2 separate regions of the Homo sapiens genome follow, and region 2 is linked to region 1. Evidence: promoter capture Hi-C in human tissues and cell types (Jung and others, 2019). All regions are on one chromosome and are shown on one strand. The core of a region is centred on a gene start or on the middle of the fragment in contact, and the rest is flanking DNA. Distances in the headings are between cores, read along the strand shown.

Region 1 (4,953 bases), core at 1,778-4,277:
CTCTCTAAGCCTCCGTCTCCCCTTCTGCATACTGGGCTGAACCACCCTCTAGCAGTCCACACCTCTCCTGAGCAGCCCCAGGAGTAGGGCCACCCCCAGAACTTCCATATTCAGGGAGGGCCGTGCTAGTCCCTACCCAAGACTCACTTCATCCTGCCCTTTCCATGAGGTCTGGGGGCCTGGCTCCAGGCTGCTGGGACCTGTCAGTTATTGTCATTATTAGTGTGACTCATCATCTCTCTCACCATGCCCTTGCCAGTTTTCACAGTGCTTTTACATCTATATGCTCAGTTAATCTTCTCAACAGCTCTGCTTCTATTTTACACATGGGAAAACTGAGACTCACACAGATTGAGGACACACAAGTAAAATCAAGATCAGGACCAGGCCTGTCTAGCTCCTGCTCCACATGGCCTCTCAAACCCAAGGCCCCATTCCAGACTCTCATCTTTATTTTCCAGGGTCTAGCTACACCACCTTCTGCTTACACCGAAACAAAAGCGGCTGGAGGGAGCTGAGCCCAGAGAGGGATGATGCAGGCTCTTCCAGAACCTGTGTCCTCTGCCTCAAGCCTTCTTTCCCTCCTGCTCGCTGACAACTGCTGAAGCAGAAACGAAGATTAGACACTAGGTGGCAGCAGCAGCCCACGGGAAGACAACTTGAGTTTGGGGAGACCACCCCCCGCCAAACTCAACACAATTTGGAGAGGCTCCACGAAAAAGACCAGCCCCCAAATAACAGGGAGACTCTGCAATGCTTGGTTTCCAGTGATGATCAACACTTTAAGGGCCAATGGAATTCACCCTCACAGGGGAAGGGGACCGCTGAAGTAGCCTGGGGTGGGAGGGGCATGCTCGAGAAACCCTACCTAACTTCTATTTCCCTCTAACTCATAGAGCCATGGGCCCTACTAATCTTGCCCTCTGCATCTCATTACTTAACCTCCCCCTCCCATGCTTTTCCCAAACTCCCCTTCATCTCAACCTACTGGGGCTCTCCACACCCCAGAAACCATCCTATATTATCCCACCCAACTCCCTCCTAAAACTTGATTCAAACTGAGTAGAGTCTTCATGACTACAGGCAGAATCTAATGGGTAATGGGGGAAGGGAGAGAAAGGAGGAGGAACCTGGGTCTCTTTCACCCTCCCCAACGCCGAAGTCTGTCTGTCCTATAGGGGGCCAGCTAGGGCAAGGTGCCAAAGCCTCATCTATTTGGGATCACTTCAGGCCCAGGCTTTGGAGCTGCAGAATCTCTAATGACTTTAGCCACTACTTTTATGAGCATCTGACCTTATATTTCCCATTCAATGAATAAATCTTTGAACCCAAGTCCTAACTTGTCTGCAAGGAGAAGCTGCTCCAAGATGAGGGCCTCTCCAGTCGGTCATGGCAGCCCCATGATGCCAAATCAATAGTGTCCCGTTTAGAGCCCTAGACCTCTCCTATTACTGCTGCACACACCCTCTGCCAAGGGCCAATAGAGAGTGTTCCCCAGATCCCCTCTCTTGTCCTCTGGGGGTACTGGACTGCCATAGAGAAGGAGCTTGGAAGGAGTGAAGGTGTGGGGAAGATAGTGACCAGGGAGTTGCGGTTGGCAAAATGTCACCAGCTGCCTTTGTCACACACTGGCCAACACCCTGCAAGGCCAAAGGAAGAGTCAGAAACAGGTAGGCCAGAGACAAAGGCACTGCTCTAGGAACTTCAGACCTGGAGCAAGATAGACAAGGCCAGCAGACACAGGGTGTGGAACATCAGACACACAGATGAGGTGGTCCAGTGAGGTGGGACCGCCGCAGGGCCAGTCAGGGCCGGCGTTGGTAGACACCTAGGACACAGGACACGACAGCCACTATGCATTATTCATCTCCGTGTCCCTTGCAAGCCCTGCATACCTCAGTTAACATTTGTTGAAGTGCCAAGAAAGGACACACAGACACAGGGAGAGAAGGTCAGTTACAGAAATGGAGGGAGTCACAACTCCTTGTCATAGCCCAGGGGTTAAGCTTGTGGGGTTTGGAGTTAGTCAGACCCTGGTTCAAATCCAGCTGGGTTCAGCCACTTGCTAACTGGAGAACCTGGACCTCAGTGCCCCCATCTCTAAAATGGAAATAACAGCACTATTTTACCGCAGCAGTTCAGCCATCTCCGGGGGCGGTAACAAGGCCCCCAAGCAGCGCACATTCCCATCTGTGGGATAGGCTAGGCAGGGGCTGGAGAACACATGTGACCTGAAGAGGAGGTAGGTGAAAGTGCTGAGCCCAGCCCCCGGCCGCGGCAGGAGGTCAGCACCGTTCAATCTGAATCCTGCTTCCTGACACAACGCAAATGCTCAGCAGAATTCGGAAAAGGGTGTGTGTGTTCTATCTGCGGATTATCCAGGACTTTTGAGCCCTCGCCGCCCTTGGACATATAGGAAAGCTGGGAGTTGCAAGGGCGAAACCGAGGTCGGAGTTTGAGAGGAGGGGTCACTGAGTGAGGAAGCAGCGCTGGCTGGGTCTCCCCCGCTCCCCCGCCCCAGCAGCCCTCCCGCCATATATACTTGAGCTTTACTCAATAAGAAACCTTTTCAGAAAAGGATAACGTCCCCAGATTGAGAGAGCCGGTCCTCTCCTCTGCCCTCTCCCCCTCCCATTTAATTGGGACGCCCCAGAAAGTCGCAGCCCCTTTGGCTAATCCCCTGGTTCCCTATTCCACTCCCATTCCACTCTCAGACCCCGCCCCTTCACTCCCACCCGCAACCTCCGCTCGATCCAGAGCCCCCCGGTGGAGACAAGGAACACAGGGACCATTCTTAACCCTTGGGGAGGATCTTCGCCCGTTGGTAAACGAGGACGCGCTCCAGCCAGACGAGCCCCAGGCGCGGGGTCCCCGGGGCTCCTGGCCGCGCCGTCGGAGCAGCCGGCGCGGCCCCGCCCTCCCCGCGCGCGGAGCGGCCGGGGCGGGGACTACAAGTCCCGGCGTGCCGCGCGCGCGCTCCCCCCTGGGGTTCCGGATGGTGAGCGGCGAAGGTAAGGCGAGCTCGCAGAGGCAGCGGCGGCGGCGGCGGAGACGGAGAGAGGCAGGCAGGCAGGGCGAGGGCGAGAGACGGAGGGAGGGAGCGAGCGAGGCGGACCAGACAGACAGACAGGCGGGCGGGCGGGCAGAGCGAGCCACCCGCCAGGCTGCGCTCAGCCCCGCTCGCAGCGGAGAGAGCAGAAGGCAGGAGGAGGGAGGGGAGGAGGGGGAGGGAGGGAGAGAGGGAATCCAGCTACCACCACCCAAAGCCAGCGTCTGCTTTCTGTCCTCATTTCCTTTTCCCACCCAGCTTGGAGAGCAGAGAAAGGCAGAGAGAGCGAGAAATAGAGACAGTCTGAGAGACAGACAGACAGCCAGAGAGAGCGGGAGGGAGGAGGGCGGAGGAGGAGGAGCAGGAGGACTACGCGGGGCGCGTTCCCTCCCAGGTTTGCTATTGGGGGGGGTGGGGGCGGGGGTGTCCAGGGCTGGGAGAGTGTGTGCGCGGCGGGAGGGCGAGGGGGGCGCAGAGAGAGCGAAGGAGTGATCGAGGTGGGGGGGCGCCGCGGGAGCGGGGGGCCGTGTCCAGCGGAGTTAGCGGCGGAGAATGTGAGCCGAGGCGCGAGCCATGCTGTCAGCGACGGCGGGCGGCTCAGGGCTCCTCCACGACTCCTCTCCTCAGCAGCCGGGCGCCCGCGTCGCTGCCACCGCCGGAAGACAGACGTCCCCCAAAACCCCTCGCCTGGCTCGGACCCACGGAGCCGGCAGCCCAGCACTCCGGTGAGTGGCGCCTCCTCCCCAGCCCCAGACCCCCGCTGGGGACCGGCCGGCCAGGCTCTTTTGTGCAGCGCACGGGGGGGGCCTGCGTCCCCCGGTCCGGTCCGCTGGACCCGGTGGCTGCGGTGCCCGCGGTGCGATCGGTCTTTGTTTCCACCGGGGCCCGCGGCTCGGCTGGGCTCGGCTCGAAGCCTGGCAGGCAGCGCCGGGAAGGGGGAGGGGGAGGTGGACGGGGAGGGGGGGCGGGGAGGGGGGGTTCTCGGGTTTCCTGGCCGCCCCGCGGCTCCCCCGGCTCGGGGGCGAGGTGCGCGCCCAGCGCTGCCGCGCGCCCCCTCCTCCTTCCCCCTCCCTCCGCCTTTGGATTTAAAACTGCAATTTGCTCTCCAGCTTGCTGAGAATGTGGGGGGGGGGGGAATGAAGGGGGGACCGTGGGAGCGGAGAACAAGGCTGGATTTTAGGATCGGCGCTGGGAAAAGGGGAGACTGCGGAGGGAGGAGCCCCTCCCCTCCAACCCCCAAATCCCTAGGATCCACTGGCTCTCGGGGAGTTGAGGGGCGGGGACCTAATGACCCGGAGGGGGTGTGGGGCGGAGGAGGGATTTGGGGGCGGCTAGGGCTGGAGGGGTTGGGCCGCGTGCCCGGTTACCTGGCGAACAAAGTCGGCTCACTTTTGCATAAATAAATAAATAATCGCCTATCAATGCGTTTCCTCTGGGGCTCTGATTGAATCGGCCCCCTCTTCCCCAGGGGGTGGGGTGCTGAGTGACAGCTGTCAGCCCCCTAGGCAGGGAGCTGGGGTGAATTGCTGAATCTCTGCTCGCTGCTTGAGGGCGCCTTCCCCTGCTGGGTCTGGGTCCCCGGGCAGAGCCAGAGGGGCAGGGGGCTGGCTCTGAGTCTAGGAAATAACCTTGTTTCCTGTTCTACAGGAAAAGGGACAGCAACCCAGAGTTTGGGGGCTGGGGATGAGGACTGATGGGAGCTTGGGGGGGTTCCCCAGCAGCCTGACCCCCCAGCCTCCTGCCAGGCGAAGGGGCCAGCTGAGGGAGGAAGGATGTGGGCCTTGCTGGCCGGAGGCGGGAGCTGGGGCTGTCCCTGAGGCGGGCAGCGGGCACAGAGCGGGAGGAGGGAGAGAAGCGGGGGCGGGAATTCTCTACCGCAGACCCTGGGGGCCAGGGCCAGATGT
Region 2 (4,953 bases), core at 947-3,446, 100 kb after region 1:
CAGGTGATCCACCCGCCTCGGCCTCCCAAAGTGCTCGGATTACAGGCTTAAGCCACCGCGCCCAGCCATATTTTTCTACTTCTATACCTGCAGTGCCTAGTATGGAACCTAACATAAAACTGACCCAAGACATGTTACTCTCCAGTCGTTTCTTTTTTTTTTTTATTTCTTCTAAAAAAAATGGGATACATGTGCAGAACGTGCAGGTTTGTTACATAGGCATTCGTGTGCCACGGTGGTTTGCTGCACCTACTGATCCATCCTCTAAGTTCCCTCCCCTCACCCTCCAAACCTCAAACAGGCCCTGGTGTGTGCTATTCCCCTCTCTGTGTCCATGTGTTCTCAATGTTCAACTCCCACTTATGAGTGAGAACATGCGGTGTTTGGTTTTCTGTTCTTGTGTTAATTTGCTGAGGATGATGGCTTCCAGCTTCATCCATGTCCCTGCAAAGGACATGATCTCATTCCTTTTTATGGCTGCATAGTATTCCATGGTGTATATGTACCACATTTTCTTTATCCAGTCTATCATTGATGGGCATTTGAGTTGGTTCCATGTCTTTGCTATTGTAAATAGTGCTGCAATAAACATACATGTGCATGTGTCTTTATAGTAGGATGATTTATTTTATTTTATTTTATTTTTTGAGACGGAGTCTTGCTCTGTCACCCAGGCTGAAGTGTAGTGGCACGATCTCGGCTCACTGCAAGCTCCACCTCCTGGGTTCACGCCATTCTCCTGCCTCAGCCTCCGGAATAGCTGGGACTACAGGCGCCCGCTACCATGCCCAGCCAATTTTTTGTATTTTTAGTAGAGACAGGGTTTCACTGCGTTAGCCAGGATGGTCTCGATCTCCTGACCTCGTGATCCGCCTACCTCGGCCTGCCACAGTGCTGGGATTACAGGCGTGAGCCACCGCGCCCGGCCAGTAGAATGATTTATATTCCTTTGGGTATATACCCAGTAATGGGATTGCTGGGTCAAATGGTATTGCTGGTTCTAGACCCTTGAGGAATTGCCACAATATCTTCCACAATGGTTGAACTAATTAACATTCTCACCAACAATGTAAAAGCGTTCCTATTTCACCACAGCCTCACCAGCATCTATTGTTTCCTGACTTTTTAATAACTGCCATTCTGGCCAGGCGCAGTGGCTCATGCTTGTAATCCCAACACTGTGGGAGGCCAAGATGGGTGGATCATGAGGTCAGGAGATCGAGACCATCCTGGCTAACACAGTGAAACCCAGTCTCTACTAAAAATACAAAAAAAAAAAAAAAAATTAGCCAGGTGTGGTGGCAGGCGCTTGTAGTCCCAGCTACTCGGGAGGCTGAGGCAGAAGAATGGCGTGAACCTGGGAGGCGGAGCTTGCAATGAGCCGAGATCGCACCACTGCACTCCAGCCTGAGTGACAGAGCGAGACTCTGTCAAAAAAAAAAAAAAAAAAAGTTAGCTGGGTGTGGTGGCACCCGCCTGTAGTCCCAGTTACTGGGGAGCCTGAGGCAGAAGAATCTCTTGAACCTGGGAGACGGAGGTTGCAGTGAGCTGAGATCACGCCACTGCACTCCAACCTGGTGACACAGCAAGACTCCGTCTCAAAAATAAATAAATAAATAAAAATAACTGCCATTCTGACTGGCGTGAGATGGTATCTCTTTGTGGTTTTGATTTGCATTTCTCTGATGGCCAGTGATGTTGAGCTTTTTTTCCTGCGTTTGTTGGCCATGTAAATATCTTCTTTTGAGAAGTGTTCATATCCTTAACTCACTTTTTGATGGGGTTGTTTTTTTCTTATAAATATGTTTAAGTTCCTTGTAGATTCCGGATATTAGACCTTTGTCAGATCAGTAGACTGAAAAAATTTTCTCCCATTCTGTAGGTTGCCTGTTCATTCTGATGATAGTTTCTTTTTTCTCTCTCTCTTTTTTTTTTTTTTTTTTTTTTTTTTAAGACGGAGTCTCCCTCTGTCTCCCAGCCTGGTGTGTGCAGTGGTGTGATCTCGGCTCACTGCAAGCTCCGCCTCCCGGGTTCACGCCATTCTCCTGCCTCAGCCTCCCGAGTAGTTGGGACTACAGGCACCCGCCACCACGCCCAGCTAATTTTTTTGTATTTTTAGTAGAGATGGGGTTTCACTGTGTTAGCCAGGATGGTCTCAATCTCCTGACCTCGTGATCTGCCCGTCTCAGCCTCCCAAAGTGCTGAGATTACAGGCGTGAGCCGCTGTGCCCGGCCGATAATAGTTTCTTCTGCTGTGCAGAAGCTCTTTAGTTTAATTAGATCCCACTTGTCAATTTTGGCTTTTGTTGCAATTGCTTTTGGTGTTTTTGCCCATGCCTATGTCCTGAATGGTGTTGCCTAGGTTTTCTTCTAGGGTTTTTATTCCTCAGGCTTTTTTTATTCAGTCCACTTTGCAGGGTAGATCATATTCTGTTCCTACTTCCTAATTCTGCCTGAGGAACTCCTACTCACCCTTCAAAACCCCTTCCAAATGGCCCTTCCTCTGTAAGCCTGTCCCAATCTCCCAGTTAAGTTCTCTACTTCTATAAGCTCATAGCTCCTACTGCAATCAGTGTCTTCCGCTTTTATTGTAATTTTTATGTATATCTTCTCCCTCATCAGATTGGGAGCCACTCAAGGGCAGAGTCTGAGTGGACTGATCCCTCCGTCCCCAGTGCCCTGCACAAGCCTGGCCAGGGCAGGCAGCAATGTATCCTTATTAAATGAATAGACTGGAAGATGTCATGAAGGGGGTAAAACTGAGGCAGGATTTTGGGCTGGGTGCCGTGGCTCATACCTGTAATCCCAGCACTTTGGGAGGCCAAGGTGGGCAGATTGCTTGTGCTCAGGAGTTCAATACAAGCCTGGGAGGCTGGGCCGGGTGGCTCATGCTTGTAATCCTAGCACTTTGGGAGGCCAAGGCAGGAGGATTGCTTGAGGCCAAAAGTTAAAGACCAACCTGGCCAACATAGCAAGACCCCCAGCCCCACCCCCATCTCTATTTAAAAAAAGAAGAAGAAGAAGACCAGCCTGGGCAACATGGCAAAACCCCGTCTCTACAAAAAATAAATAAATAAATAAAAATTTGCCGAGCATGGTGGCACGCACCTGTAGTCCCAGCTACTTGGAGGCTGAGGTGGGAAAATCACTTGAGTCCAGGAGGTAGAGGCTGCAGTGAGCTGAGATAGCACCACTGCACTCCAGTCTGGCGACAGAGTGAGACCTTGTCTCAAAAAAATAAAAAACAAAAATAAATAAATAATTCAGGCCGGGTGCGGTGGCTCACACCTGTAATCCCAGCACTTTGGGAGGCTGAGGTGGGAGGATCACCTGAGGTCGGGAGTTTAAGACCAGCCTGACCAACATGGAGAAACACTGTCTCTACTAAAAATTTAAAATTAGCCAGGCGTGGTGGCACATGCCTGTAATCCCAGCTACTCGGGAGCCTGAGGCAGGAGAATTGCTTGAACCCTGGAGGCGGAGGTTGTGGTGAGCTGAGATGGCGCCATTGCACTCCAGCCTGGGCAACAAGAGTGAAACTCTGTCTCAAAAAAAAAAAAAAAAAAAAAAAAATTCAAGCAGGATTTTGAAGGTAGGAGGAAAGAGAATAACAGGTACTTACTGAGGGCATAGTACCAATAAAAACAGGCTGGGCACGGTGGCTCACGCCTGTAATCCCAGCACTTTGGGAGGCCGAGGTGGGCAGATCACGAGGTCGGGAGTTCGAGACGAGCTTGGCCAACATGGTGAAACCCCATCTTCAAAAAATACAAAAATTAGCTGGGCATGGTGGTGGGTGTCTGCAATCTTAGCTACTCAGGAGGCTGAGACGTGAGAATCACTTAAACCCAGGAGGCGGAGATTGCAGTGAGCTGAGATCATGCCACTGCACTCCAGCCTGGGTGACAGAGCGAGACTCCATCTCAAAAAAAAAAAAAAAGAAAAATCATAATCATCAGCAGCAGCATCATCATCATGGGAACTATCACTAAATGTGCCATAGTGTGATGAGTAAGAGCACAGATTAAGCTCTACCCCTTACTGGCTGTGTGAGCATGTGCAAGTTATAGAAATCTCCTTGTGCCTCAGTTTCCTCATCTGCAAACTGGGGTTAGTAATAATATCTACCGTATCAGGAGTTAAATAGGTAAATATATGCAAGGTGCTGAGAACTATGCCAGGTACACATGGGCACTGTGTATTTCCTATCACTGTTATTGCTGAACACTTTGGTCCTGCCAGGCAGTTTTATCTGCCATCTCACTTGGTCCTCACAGCAGCCTGAGAGACAGGGATTATTGTCCCCTTTTACAAAGAAATGAGGCGTAAACAGGCCAGGCAGCTTGCTAAGGTCACTTGCTGGGTAAGTGGCAGGAATGGGATTTGAACCTAGGTCTCTCTGCCCCTCCCACCCACCCCATTTCCCTGACTGTGGAACCTGCCTGAAGGAGGAGGAGGAGGAGGAGGAGGAGGAGGAGGAGGAAGAGGAGGAGATGGCATAGTGGGAAGGCAGGGAGGCTTCACCGAGCTGGGGCCTTGGAAGCAGAGCAGCAGGCATTTTTTCCAGAGCTTTCATTTCCGTCTGCTTCTTCTAAGCAGGTGAAAAACCCCACAGAGGACCCTTCCCTGAGTACCCCCGCCCCCACCCTATTTCCTCCCCCACCCAGCACTGCCTCTGTCCCCCACACTGGGAGCGGGGAGGTCAGGCATGCAGCGTGGGGGATGCAGGGGAGGGGAGTGAGGAGGTGGGGGAGCATCATTCCAGATCCTTCCCCTCAGCAACCCTCTCTTCCCCATCAAAGGCGCTCAGGGAGGAGAGAGCATTCCAGGTGGAAGGAATGGCAAATGCAAAGGCTGCAGATTAAGGATGTGGAGGTGGGGAAAGCCTGCGAGCTTGGCTGGAACCGAGGTTCGTGGCCCCCTGGGATTGCTCAGTGAAGAACTTGCTTGACG

Evidence for each region. The method cuts DNA at HindIII sites, captures the fragments that hold promoters and counts their contacts. A contact is called where the count stands out against the background at its distance.
Region 2: a contact is called between a fragment that was not itself captured here and the fragment with the promoter of AHDC1 in region 1, in 4 of the 25 tissues and cell types used here (dorsolateral prefrontal cortex, mesendoderm cells, spleen and 1 more).

The regions. Positions count from the first base shown.
Region 1 is chr1:27,602,218-27,607,170 of GRCh38, reverse strand. It overlaps AHDC1 (AT-hook DNA binding motif containing 1), which reads left to right and starts at 3,027. Exons shown (of 9, transcript NM_001371928.1): 1 at 3,027-3,065; 2 at 3,308-3,443; 3 at 3,677-3,774. RefSeq lists enhancers at 1-567, 459-753, 4,336-4,385 and silencers at 2,683-3,222, 3,773-3,852. The HindIII fragment of the contact is 10,400 bases long and covers 1-4,953 here.
Region 2 is chr1:27,496,861-27,501,813 of GRCh38, reverse strand. No RefSeq gene overlaps it. Among named protein-coding and RNA genes, the nearest start is that of WASF2, 9.2 kb to the right of the region's middle. The HindIII fragment of the contact is 9,908 bases long and covers 1-4,953 here.